Linked DNA regions of Homo sapiens: region 2 is linked to region 1. Evidence: promoter capture Hi-C in 16 types of primary human blood cells and fetal thymus (Javierre and others, 2016). All regions are on one chromosome and are shown on one strand. The core of a region is centred on a gene start or on the middle of the fragment in contact, and the rest is flanking DNA. Distances in the headings are between cores, read along the strand shown. Region 1 holds the start of PIANP (PILR alpha associated neural protein). Region 2 overlaps ZNF384 (zinc finger protein 384).

Region 1 (6,233 bases), core at 2,646-5,145:
GCGAAACCCCGTCTCTGAAAATAAATAAATTAATTAAAAATGAGCCCAGAGATAGTGATGAAGATACCAGCAGAGCCAGAAACAGGACAAGGATGTATAGAGACTGTATAGAGACTGTAGAGTGTGGGTAGGTCCTCAAATTCATCTGAAGTCACATTTATCACTGCACTGTCTCCCTACCAGACTGTAAGCTCCACCAAGACAGTGATGACTTCATTCTTGCTCTCCGCTGTATCCCCAGCCATGGCACGGTACCTGGCGTGTCACACCATTTAAATGACCATATTTGTATGACCAGCCTGGACAACGTGGCAAAATCTCATCTCTGCCAAAAAAAAAAAACAAAAACAAAAAACAAAAAAAAACAACCACCACCACAAATTAGCCTGGCATGGTGGCACACACATGTAGTCCCAGATACTTGGGGGCTGAGGTGGGAGGATTGCTTGAGCCAGGAGGTCAAGGCTGCAGTGAGCCATGATTGTGCCACTACACTCCAGCCTGGGCAACAGAGTGAGACCCTGTTTCAAAAAAAAAAAAAATGTGGAAAGAATGAATGAATCAAGAATAATAGAAATAATTAATGACCCAAGGTCCTCAGTGTCAAAGGCACTTACACTGAACATGAATATTCACTTGATAAACTTGGTCCATGCCAGTGACATGAGTTCACCTGGAGCATATCCTCAGGATGCTCTGGGGCTTAAGGGGCCCAGGAGGTGGCAGGAGTTGCGCACCTGACTCACATGGCCCCTTGGCCGGGTTCACATCCAGTGTGCCTTGTCTTTCCCCCACCACTGGGAGACACTAGGAGGACGGCTCACTCGCTGCTGTTCTGACCTCAAATGAAGGGCTGTCAGGGACACGCAAGCAAGAGGGCAGCTGCTGCAGATGCTCGTCAGAACAGCAGGCTTCCTTCCTTTCACGAGGCAGGAGCGCCAGGCTGACAACGGGTCACAATGCAGCAAATGAAGGAGGAGGATCTGAAGGGGTGTGGACATGAGCAAGGGCTCAACCTGAAGCATTTGGCGTAGGGCAGAGATCAGTAGGGGGCAGGCAGCTAGAGAGGAATGGCTGGAGGACAGCAGAGGAGAGAATTAAAAGAGTTCAGAGTGGGCAGGGGTCCCAGAAGAAGTTCATTAAGTGGTACATGTTGAGCATCTACTACATTCCAAGGCACTGCAGTAGGAGTAGGGATACACGGTAAACAAGACAAATAAGATCTTGGCTCTCTAATGTATAGGGGGGCAGGAGAGAGCAGACAGTAAATAGTAAACACATATATGATCATTTCAGAAAGTGATGAGTCGGGCCAGGCGTGGCGGCTCACGCCTGTAATCCCAGCACTTTGGGAGGCCGAGGTGGGAGGATCACCTGAGGTCAGGAGTTCGAGACCAGCCTGGCCAACATGGTGAAACCCCGTCTCCACTAAAATTACAAAAATTAGCCAGGCATGGTGGTGTGCACCTGTAATCCCAGCTATTTGGGAGGCTGAGGCAGGAGAATCGCTTGAACCCAGGAGGCAGAGGTTGCGGTGAGCCAAGATTGCACCATCGCACTCCAGCCTGGGCTGCGAGAGCAAAACTCCATCTCAATAAATAAATAAACAAATAGAAAGTGATGAGTTGGAAAGACAATGAAACATAATGAGGAAACAGAGTGGGGGCCACTTTAGATTTTGAGCAGGGATGAAGGAGCCAACCAGGTGAAGATGGGGAGAGGGGTGGCAAAACATTCCAGGAAGAGGGAATCAAAAGTGGAGGGGCCGGGCGCAGTGGCTCACGCCTGTAATCTCAGAACTTCGTGAGGCCAAGGCTGGTGGATCATTTGAGGTCAGGAGTTCAAGACTAGCCTGGCCAACATGGTGAAACCCTGTCTCTACAAAAAATACAAAAATTAGCAGGGCACTAGTGGGCACTGCCAGAGGGGTGGGAGGGCTGGGAAGGCTGGAAGGGCCCCCCTGCATGCACACGCTAGCTACTTGGGAAGCTGAGGCAGGAGAATTGCTTGACCCTGGGAGGCGGAGGTTGCAGTAAACTGAGATCGTGCCATTGCACTCCAGCCTGGGCAACAGAGAGACACACTGTCTCGAGAAAAAAAAAAAGTGCAGGGATGCTAAGAGAATGACTTCTGATGTTACAGAACAGCAAGTAGTCTGATCCAGCAGGAGCACTGTGTATGAGGTGGGTACAGGCTGGTGGGCTTCTCCTTACAAGGAGTTCAGATTTATTCCAAGTGTAATGAAAAACCACTCGAATATTTTAAGCAGAGAAGAGCATGACATGCTTTTGATTTTTAAAATATTATCAATATAGGAAAAACTAGTTTGTAAAGACAAGGGCAGAAGCAGGGACCAGTGAGGAAGCTATTATGATAATCTGGATGAGACATGATGGCTTAGACCAAGACTATAGCAATAAAGATAGAAGGAGATGAATTCGGGATATATTTTGGACGCAGAGCCCACAGGACTTGTTGGTGAATTAGATACAGGGAGAGAATCAGTGAAAAAAAGGGGAAGGGAGGGATGTTTCCTAGATTTTTAGCCTGAACAACTAGTAGTTGTGAAGCCTCAGGATGGGGATCACTGGGAGAAAAATGGATTGGGGGTGGGGGAATTCAAGACATCTATTTTAGTCAAGTTAGCTTTGCATGGCTATTAGACATCCAAGTGGAGATGTCAAGTAGGCTGTCGGATAAATGAGTCTGGCGCTCTGGATATAAATTTAGGACTCACTGACATTTACATAGTATTTAAGCCCTGGGACCGGATGAGATCACTGGACAGAGAATGTGGAAAGAGAGAATGGCCAAGGACTAAGCCCTAGGAGGCTCCAACATTTAGAGGTCACCCGAGGAAGACTAAGAACAGTCAGTGAGGTTGGAGGGAAATGAGGAGAGTGTGGTGTCCTGGAAGTGCCCTGAGGAAAAACAGCGTAGTGTGGTAGAGAGGGATGGGATCCAGGTGGTGGGAGAAGGGGCAGGAGAGGCTACTTTTGATAGAGACATTAGGGAAGGCCTCCCAGAAGGCGTTGGATCTAAGTGAGACTGGAATGAAAACAGTAAGTCATTGTGAAAAGCCAGGGAAATGTATTACTGAGGGAACAGCAAGTGCAAAGGCCCTGAGGCAGGTTAAACCTGTCTCCAACCAGGAAATCCACCAGGTCCCATGTGGCTGAAGCATAGAAATCTTTAGGAAAGGCAATCAGAGAGCCACCTAAGAGCCAGGTTATATAGGGTCTTGTAAGTCACAGCACGGAGTCTAGGTATTCCAGTGCTGGAAAAGCCCAGGAATTTCGACGTGATCCACTTAATGCATGGTAGCAGGGCCAGAGTGAAATAGGGGATCAAGCTGTGGGGATAATCCAAAGATGGTGCAAGGTCCTTCCTCCCCAGTCCTTTCCTCCACCCCTTGCCCCCAGCCTTGACCTCAGGCACTTTCTACAGCGGGCAAAACCAAGTTGGGGGACAGGCAGTGGTGACTCACGCCTGTAATCCCAGCACTCCGGGAAGCTGAGCGGGAAGGATCGCTTGAGCCCAGGCGTTCGAGACCGGGCTGGGCAACACAGCGAGACCTCATCTCTACAAAACACAATACAAAAGAACAAAGTTGGGAATGCAGAGCATTGAGTGACTCAGAATCTCAGAAACTGACTGAGGCGACCATGGGTGTCCCTGGAGTTGGGGTGAAGGAGGTGGGGAGACTGCCATCAGAACCCAGGGAAGCGGACGGTCGCTGGACCCTGCCAGCCTCTTCAGCCCTCCACCTGGGACATAGCCTGGCTTGACTCCTGCAGCGCGGCAGCAGGAGGGTTAAACCGTGCGTGGCCTCCGGCGCGGGGGGGAGGCGGAGACGGAGACGGAGCGGTCCCAGCCGCCGCGCCGAGCCCAGCCGAGCCGAGCCGAGCCGAGCCGAGGCGAGCATCTCCCACCGCCGCCGCCCCGCGCCCCAGGCGCCCGCCCCCCACCCGCTCCAGCGCCCTGCCGCGGGCCAAACCTCCCCACCATGCCCCGCACCCCGCCCGCTCCTGCGACCCCCCAGCCCCGCTCAGTCCCGAGCGCCCGCAGTCGTCGCGCCGCCGCGCCAAGCATGCAGGTGAGTGAGAGGGACCCCCACGCCCCCACCCGCGGGGAGCCCGGCCCTGCCCTTCCCGGCTCCGCGCCCTGCGCCTCCTGCCCCTCCCGACGCGGTCCCTCGCCCGGGACAAGGCCTCCAGCCTCCCAGCGCCCCTTCCCCGAAGGGCTCTCCATCCCTCCGCGGTCCTGGCTCGCTCCCGCCCTCCCTGGCGCAGCCGTCCCCGTCCCCGCGGCTGCCTCCATCCCGCCTCGGCTCGGCGGGCGGCTCCGCGCAGTCTCCTGCTTCGGGTCCCCAGTCCGCTCTCGGCACTCCCTGCCTCGGGGTCCCTTCGCCGACCTCCTTTTCCTCGTCTCCCCCCACTCTCGCCGCTCTCCAGCCCTGTGCGGGGAGTGCGGGCCTGCGGGATGGGTGGGATGGGGGCCACGCTGGGGCTGGGGCCCGGCTCCCGCACCCCGAGGCTCCTGCCCCACCCCCAGCTCGTCTCCTGCGCACAACAGGTCGGTGAGAAGCTGGGAGAGGGGTGGGGGTGGCGCGCCAGCCCGGGGACTGCGGGCTTCCTGGAGGGGGCGGCTGAAGCTGTGCGGGGCCCAGGGACTGGGTTGGCGCTGGCTGGGGGTGGGGATGCACAGGCGGAGGGGCGATAGTCCTAGAGTCAGCTGGCCACAGATGCGCCCTGGGAGCCCTTCTCCGCTTCACTGGTTCGCTCTACACGCCTCGCTCCCTCCCTCTAGCTTTCTTCCTTTCCCCTCTCTCTCCCTTCTTCCCACCATGCCCCCATCCCTATGTCTTTCGGTATCTCCACATCCCTTTACATTTGGGGGAGCAATTCCGAACTCCTCCATCTTTGCTGCTCCCGCCTCTGCTTCCCAGCCCGTTCCTCGTGTCATTTTTCCTTAAGCATTTATGTTCTCTCCTTCCCCACTTCCTTTCTCCCCATCCTGGGCTTTCCCCCCTTTTCTCCCATCCCCTTACTCTCCACTCCTCTGGCTGTCCTGCCTGGACCGCTCTCTCCTTCTCCTCCTGCCCCTTCTTCCCCTGCACCTGTGACCCCTTCATCCTCTCCGTTTCCCCTCCCTGACCTTTTCTCTCATCCTTTCCTCCCTTCGGCATCCTCCACAGTTCGAGTCTTCTGTACCCACTCTCCTCCTCTCTTCCCAGTTCTCTCTTTTTCAGGACTGCCTGCTCTCTCTCACCCTGCACTCCAGGCCAGCTTCCTCTTCACATTTCTCCTCTCTCACTCTTAACCAGCCTTCCATCTCCCAGCCCTTCACCCCTTCCCATCTCTCCCACTGCCTGCTTCCCCACGCCCTTCCCGTGACTTTCCCATCTTGTTCCCTTGTTGTTCTCTGGGAAGATTCAATGGGCAGATTTATTTATTTTATTTTTTGAGTCGGAGTCTCGCTCTTGTTGCCCAGACTGGAGTGCAATGGTGTGATCTCAGCTCACTGCAACCTCCGCCTCCCAGGTTCAAGGGATTCTTCTGCCTCAGCCCTCTGAATAGCTGGGATTGCAGGCGCCCACCACTACCCCCGGCTAATTTTTGTATTTTTAGTAGACACGGGGTTTCACTATGTTGGCCAAGCTAGTCTCGAACTCCTGATCTCAGGTGATCCACCCGCCTTGGCTTCCCAAAGTGCTAGGATTACAGGCGTGAGCCACTGCGTCTGGCCCATTGGGCAGATTTAGACCCAGAATCCACAGGAAACGGGTATCCTATCTTCACTCCCTCTGGGGAGCCTGCCCCTCCTGGATCCACCACCCTCAGCTCTGAGAACACACCCTTTCTCTTTCAAAACCAACCATCCCGATTTTCCCAGGATTCTTTACCCAGGAGAGCCACATTTGAGGGGGTGGTTTCTTCCTGACTCCACCTCCCTTCAGAGGGCACCTATGCACTTGGATGATTAAACATTAAGAGCAAAAATTATATTCTGTAGTTTTTCTCCCACTCACCTCTCTCTTTCTGTCTCTTTCCTTCCATCCCTCCAGCTCTTCATTCCTTTCTCCTGAAGATGCAGACTCCTGGGGCTAATCATAAGACAAATGCCTGGCACTGCCAGAGGGGTGGGAGGGCTGGGAGGGCTGGAAGGGCCCCCCTGCACGTACACACACTCACTGGCTTGCTCAGATTGACTTCCCCATCCCTCCCCCTACC
Region 2 (6,233 bases), core at 2,295-4,794, 33 kb after region 1:
TTCCTGTCATTAGGGGGCTGGGCTGCAAAAAGCACTTAGTTTTCATGAGTTTCCATTAATATCACTACTACTCTCCACAATCAGTGTAACTGCTTTTCTTTGTTACCATAACATTCTCTGGAAGTGATGCTCAAGGCTGAGGGGACTGTTTCTGGCCATAAGGTGGGGCCAAGGAAGACGCGTTCTGCTTTTCTTTTTCCTTGCCATTGTGTTTATCTTGTGTTCTTGAATGTTCGTTAGGACAGTTACTGTAGGAGCTGACTTGAATGCCAAATTGTGGGCTGCCTGTTCCTTGGGTGCCAAGTCCTCAGTCTCTCCTCCCCCAGCAGAGAGGAGCCTCAGCTTGAGCTGAGTGATGCAGGCATTGACCAGAAGCAAATCATCAGTACCTGATCCACATCAGAGAGGAAGGCTGGTGCCTCTTGGAGGCCCATCTGATGTGCCTCCTTAGGAGAGCAGGATGGGCCTGGAGAAGATTTGTTGAGCCAGTTCCTAAATGGTCTTGCTGACATTCTTTCCCTTTTTTCTCTTATCCTGTGCAGAATCCACACTGGTGATAGACCATACAAATGTGCACACCCAGGCTGTGAGAAAGCCTTCACACAACTCTCCAATCTGCAGGTAAATGTTCCACCCTCCACACAAGACCTTGAGTCTGAGACATGGGGCCATTTGAATAGTATCGTGGTTCTCAAATGTTTTCAGGACTCCTTTACACTCAAACATTATTGAGGGACCCAAAGAGTTTTTGTTTATGTGGGTAATAGCTGTCTACATAGACGTTGTAAAACTGAAAAACCTGAAAAATATTTATAATAGTAATCTGTTTAGAAAGAACAAAAATAAACCCATTGTGTGTTAACATAAATAACATATTCCAAGACCCTCCAAAAACAACTGAGTGAGAAGAATGGCATTATTATACATTTTTGCAGGTGTCTATTTTTTATTTTTGGGACAGGACCTTGCTCTGTCACCCAGGCTGAGTGCAGTGGTGTTATCATGGCCCACTGCAGCCTCAGCCTCCCGGTCTCAAGTGATCCTTCCACCTCAGCCTCCCAAGTAGCTGGGATTCTAGGCATGCACCATCACACCTGGCTGTTTTTTTCATTTTCGTAGAGATGGGGTCTTGCTATCTTCCCTAGGCTGGTCTCGAACTCCTGGACACAGGCCATCCTCCCGCCTCAGCCTCCCCAAAGTGCTAGGATTGCAAGCATGAGTCACCGCACCTGGCACAGGGGTCTTTAATGTCTTAAGCTAGAAGATGAGTAGATTCTCAGATCTGCTGCATCTGGCCTATTGTGTTATCACACATCATGTAACCTCTGTAAGGGTTACATGTAAAACATAAGGCACAATGAAGCCACTTGAAATTTTGAGGGGAACAAGATTTCAGTTAGGTTTTTCATCTTTGTGTTTGTGTGTGTGTGTGTGTGTGCGCGCGCGCGTGTGCGTGTTTGAGACAGAGGCTCGCTGGGTCACCTAGGCTGGAGTGCAGTGGTGTGATTTCAGCTTACTGCAACTTCCCAGGTTCAAGAGAGACAAAGGCAAACATTGTCTTATTATTTTGAAAAGATTTGGCTGGGCGCGGTGGCTCACACCTGTAATCTCAGCACTTTGGGCGGCGGAGGCGGGCGGATCACCTGAGCTCAGGAGTTGGAAACCAGCCTGGCCAACACGGTGAAACCTTGTCTCTACTAAAAATACAAAAAAAATTAGCCAGGCCTGGTGGCATGTGCCTGTAGTCCCAGCTACTTGCAGGCTGAGGCAGGAGAATCGCTTGAACCCGGGAAGCGGAGGTTGCAATGAGCCGAGATTGTGCCGCTGCACTCCAACCTGAGCGACAGAGTGAGAGACTTCATCTGGGAAAAAAAAAAAAAAAGAGTTTTGACCCTGTGGGCCCCCTGTGAAGGTCTTAGTGTTCCCTAAAGATCCCCATGCCTCATTTTAAGAACCACTGGACTGGTGAGACGGGCATAAGCTGTCTTGGGATCCTGGTATGTGCTACATGAGGTATGCTTCCACCCTTAGCCTGTAGCTTCTCAAGTTTCATTTGAAACAATTTCTACTTTCTTCAGATAGAGGGAGAAGCTGGGAGGCCTGACACCTACCTTTTTGCTTTCCATCGAGGTCAAGGGGGCAGGAGGAAAGAGTACAATGTATTCATTCTGGTTTCTCCCAATTTTCTCAGTCCCACAGACGGCAACACAACAAAGATAAACCCTTCAAGTGCCACAACTGTCATCGGGCGTACACGGATGCAGCCTCACTAGAGGTGCACCTGTCTACGCACACAGTGAAGCATGCCAAGGTGTACACCTGCACTATCTGCAGTCGGGCATACACATCAGTGAGTGCTCCGTTTCTTCTCTCCTTCCTCATAGTCCTCTAAGAGTACAGTCCACTTCACCCCATTTTCTGGGTAGAGATCTGTTGCAGTGAATACCCTGCCTCCCTAGCTCCAACTTAGCAGAACAGGTAAATATTCAGAAATTAATTAGACCCATTCTGAGGAATTTAGGGGATGCCTGATCTCCTAATCCTATAGAGACGCATAAGCTGTAATTCTTCATTTTACTTAAACATAAGGCAAAATAAAGCCACTTGAAATTTTGAGGGGAGCTGGATTTCAGTTAGGCATTTTCTTCTTCTTTTTTTTTTTTTTTTCTTTTTGAGACACAGTCTCGCCCTGTCACCCAGGCTGGAGTGCAGTGGTGTGATCTCGGCTCGGCTCACTGTAACCTCCACCTCCTGGGTTCAAGCGATTCTCCTGCCTCAGCCTCCCAAGTAGGTGGGATTACAGGTGCATGTTGCCATGCCCAGCAACTTTTTGTATTTTTAGTAGACATGGGGTTTCACCATGTTGCCCAGGCTGGTCTCAAACTCCTGACCTCAAGTGATCCACCTACCTCAGCCTCCCAAAGTACTGGGATTACAGGTGTGAGCCACCGCACCTGGCCCAGTTAGATATTTTCCATGAGACTCCAGAAAAGGTTGTAAAGTTGTTTCATTCAGGGGTCTTTGAAAAAAATAGCAGCTCATTCCTTTGCCAGTTGAATGTTGAGTGACTTCTAAAGGTTCCTCTCTTTTTTTTCTCAGTAGTGAGCCACTGAAAGTGCTACTTGAGTTTTGCTCAGTCTTGGCTCCAGAAAACCAGTATAAAGCTTACTCTGCTTACAGCAGAATCAGAGCCTGGGGTGCTAGTTACAAGTAATCTCTTTTCCTTCCTCTTTATCCCTCAACTTCTTTTTACCATCTCCCTCAGGAAACATACCTTATGAAACATATGCGCAAACACAACCCGCCTGATCTTCAGCAACAGGTGCAGGCAGCAGCAGCAGCGGCAGCAGTGGCCCAGGCCCAGGCTCAAGCTCAAGCCCAGGCTCAGGCTCAGGCTCAAGCCCAGGCCCAGGCCCAGGCCTCCCAGGCATCACAGCAGCAGCAGCAGCAGCAGCAGCAGCAGCAGCAGCAGCAGCAACAGCCACCACCACACTTCCAGTCTCCTGGGGCAGCCCCCCAGGGTGGGGGTGGTGGGGACAGCAATCCCAACCCTCCACCCCAGTGTTCCTTTGACCTGACCCCGTATAAGACGGCGGAGCATCATAAGGACATCTGCCTCACTGTCACCACCAGCACCATCCAGGTGGAGCACCTGGCCAGCTCTTAGAGATCCGTGCTGCCACCCACTGGGAAGAGGAAGAAGTAGTCCTGGTGTCTTCTTTCTCCAACTCTTGGTGGGAAAAGTCCTTTTCTTCCTTGACAGGCCTTGGCTCCATCTCCTTGGGCCTCTGTCACGGCTTTCCTTCACAGGATACCATCCTTTTTCTGAACTCTTCTTCAAAAGGAACATCAGCCCTCCTGATTGCAAAGGAATACTGAGCTGATGGTGTCATCCAGCAGCCTCCCCTCCCAAGCAAAGCTTCTAAAACTGGGGGTCGGTGCTCAAGGGAAGGATTTGCTATGACCTCATAGAACCTTGTCCAGTGTGGCCACTTACCCTATCCTTACCCTCCTTATCCTCAAAGTTTGGGCTGATGTAAGACTAGAGGCTGGCCCTCCCAGATAACAGAGAAAAGGGAGCCCCAAATGCAACCAGCCTCTTGTTCTATTCTTGCCTGCAAAAGAACAGAGGTTTCTCAAATGCCTCAGTCCCTGAGAGCCATTTCTTCCCCTACATCGTCTCACTTTGCTTCCTATTGACTGCTGGTAGAAGGAGATTTGGGGTAGGGGCTAGACCTCCTTTTATTTGAAGGGGGCAAGGGCTGAGATGTGGTCCCCAAGGGGCCAGAAATTCCCAAGTTGGTCACAGGTGGCTTAGAAGTGTGTGTTATGGTTTTACGGATTTCCTTGAAGCCTCTCTCCTTCTCTGCCTACAAAGACCCTATACTCTCAGTCTCCCCAACCCACCCCCAAGGAGCTGTGGGAGGCTTTGTGTTATCTGTGAAACTCCAAAACAGGGGTGTTGCGGAGAAGGGAGAGTTCAAGGCAAACGCAAGGACTGGACTTAGCTCCCTAGGTGCCACAGTCAGATGCCGGACACGGATTTATATATAAATATATATATATAAATATATTATACTCACTCATCACGGCCATCTTTGTTGTAACCATTTCTGTGTTTATAAATGCATTATCTCTGAGAATTTTCATATTTGATGTTTTGTTTATTTTTGTCCTTTTTTTCCCTCTCTCCACCCCTGTCCTCTAGCCACAGCATTTTTCTTTTTGTCTTTTTTTTTTTTTTTTAAATCATGGCAGATTTCAGAGGAAAGGAAATTAAAAAAAAAATCAGGAAACCAGTTGTTATAAAGTAATTTAAAAATGAAGAAAAAAAGAAAAAAACTTATGTACAAACCAAGGGGTGTTTTTAGAACATTGTATAGAAATAAATTCATGTAAAAGGATCAGAGGCAGTGGAGCTACTGATGTGAGCGAGCATGCGGAAAAGGTATTTGGGGAGATGTCCAAGAACAGTACTGAGGATTTATACCAGAGTGTGTGTGTGATGAACAAGTGCTTGTGTGATGATGCCCCATTTGTGCAATTCTCCAGTCATGGAAGGGTACAGTTTCATGATGTCTCCAGTGAAATCCTGGTTTATGAGGACTTCTACATACACATTCTGTCATGGGGATTGCATTGCCTAAATATGTGAGAGCAAGGCTTTGGTTATGTGTTAACAAAACAGCTAAGCTCCCTATGGAAGAAAAATGGAAGCCTCTTGAAAGGACCTACACTCCTGCCTGAGTCTGTGGAAGAGGGGCTTGCAGTTGGCAATGTGTATACATATGTGTATTTGTTACCTTGTGGAAATCATAACCGGTTAAGGGGTGCAAGATTGATTTATGCAGGAGAGCTGTAGTACTATGGAGTAGAATGTGGTCATGAAACCTGGACTTCAGCCCTTTGCCTACCATCAACCAGTGTTGGCCAGGGTGCTTCTTCAACTGTTAGTGAAGGGATTGGACTAGATAACTCTGAAGATACCTTTTTTGAGAATTAAGTAACTTGCTTTAAGGCTGGGTGCGGTGGCTCACGCCTGTAATCCCAGCATTTTGGGAGGGCGAGGCAGGCAGACTACTTGACGTCAGGAGTTCAAGACCAGCCTGGCCAACATGGTGAAACCCCATCTCTACTAAAAATACAAAAATTGATGGCCGTGCACGGTGGCTCACGCCTGTAATCCCAGCACTTTGGGAGGCCGAGACAGGTGAATCATGAGGTTAGGAGCTCGAGACCAGCCTGGCCAGTATGGTGAAACCCCGTCTCTACTGAAAATACAAAAAATAAGCTAGGCATAGTGGTGGGCGCCTGCAATCCCAGCTACTCAGGAGGCTGAGGCAGGAGAATCTTTTGAACCTAGGAGGCAGAGGTTGCAGTGAGCCAAGATCGTGCCATGGCACTCCAGCCTGGGCGACAGAGTGAGACTCTCTCTCAAAAAAGTAAAATAAAAATACAAAAATTAGCCAGGTGTGGTGGCACGCGCCTGTAGTCCCAGCTGCAGGCTGAGGCAGAAGAATGACTTGAACCTGGGAGGCGGAGGTTGCAGTGAGCCGGGATTGCACCACTGCACTCCAGCCTGGGCCACAGAGCGAGATTCTGTCTGGAAAAAAAAAAAAAAACAAAAAAAAAAAAACCTTGCTTTAAGCACCGAAAAAGTTGTGAAAGTTGTGACCAAGCTCCCACATCCTGAGAACTCTGGGACTGCTGGCCAATAGTACTTGTTATGTAGT

What was found. The method cuts DNA at HindIII sites, captures the fragments that hold promoters and counts their contacts. A CHiCAGO score of 5 or more calls a contact.
Region 2: a contact is called between a fragment that was not itself captured here and the fragment with the promoter of PIANP in region 1, in 4 of 17 cell types (activated CD4 T cells, endothelial precursors, naive CD4 T cells and 1 more). The highest score is 6.1, in activated CD4 T cells.

Annotation. Positions count from the first base shown.
Region 1 is chr12:6,698,477-6,704,709 of GRCh38, reverse strand. PIANP (PILR alpha associated neural protein) reads left to right here and starts at 3,895. Exons shown (of 5, transcript NM_001244014.2): 1 at 3,895-4,096. RefSeq lists an enhancer at 4,614-5,115. The HindIII fragment of the contact is 12,862 bases long and covers 1-6,233 here.
Region 2 is chr12:6,665,148-6,671,380 of GRCh38, reverse strand. ZNF384 (zinc finger protein 384) reads left to right here. Exons shown (of 12, transcript NM_001385745.1): 10 at 543-621; 11 at 2,192-2,350; 12 at 3,266-4,904. The coding sequence ends at 3,667. Among named protein-coding and RNA genes, the nearest start is that of ING4, 5.1 kb to the right of the region's middle. The HindIII fragment of the contact is 755 bases long and covers 3,167-3,921 here.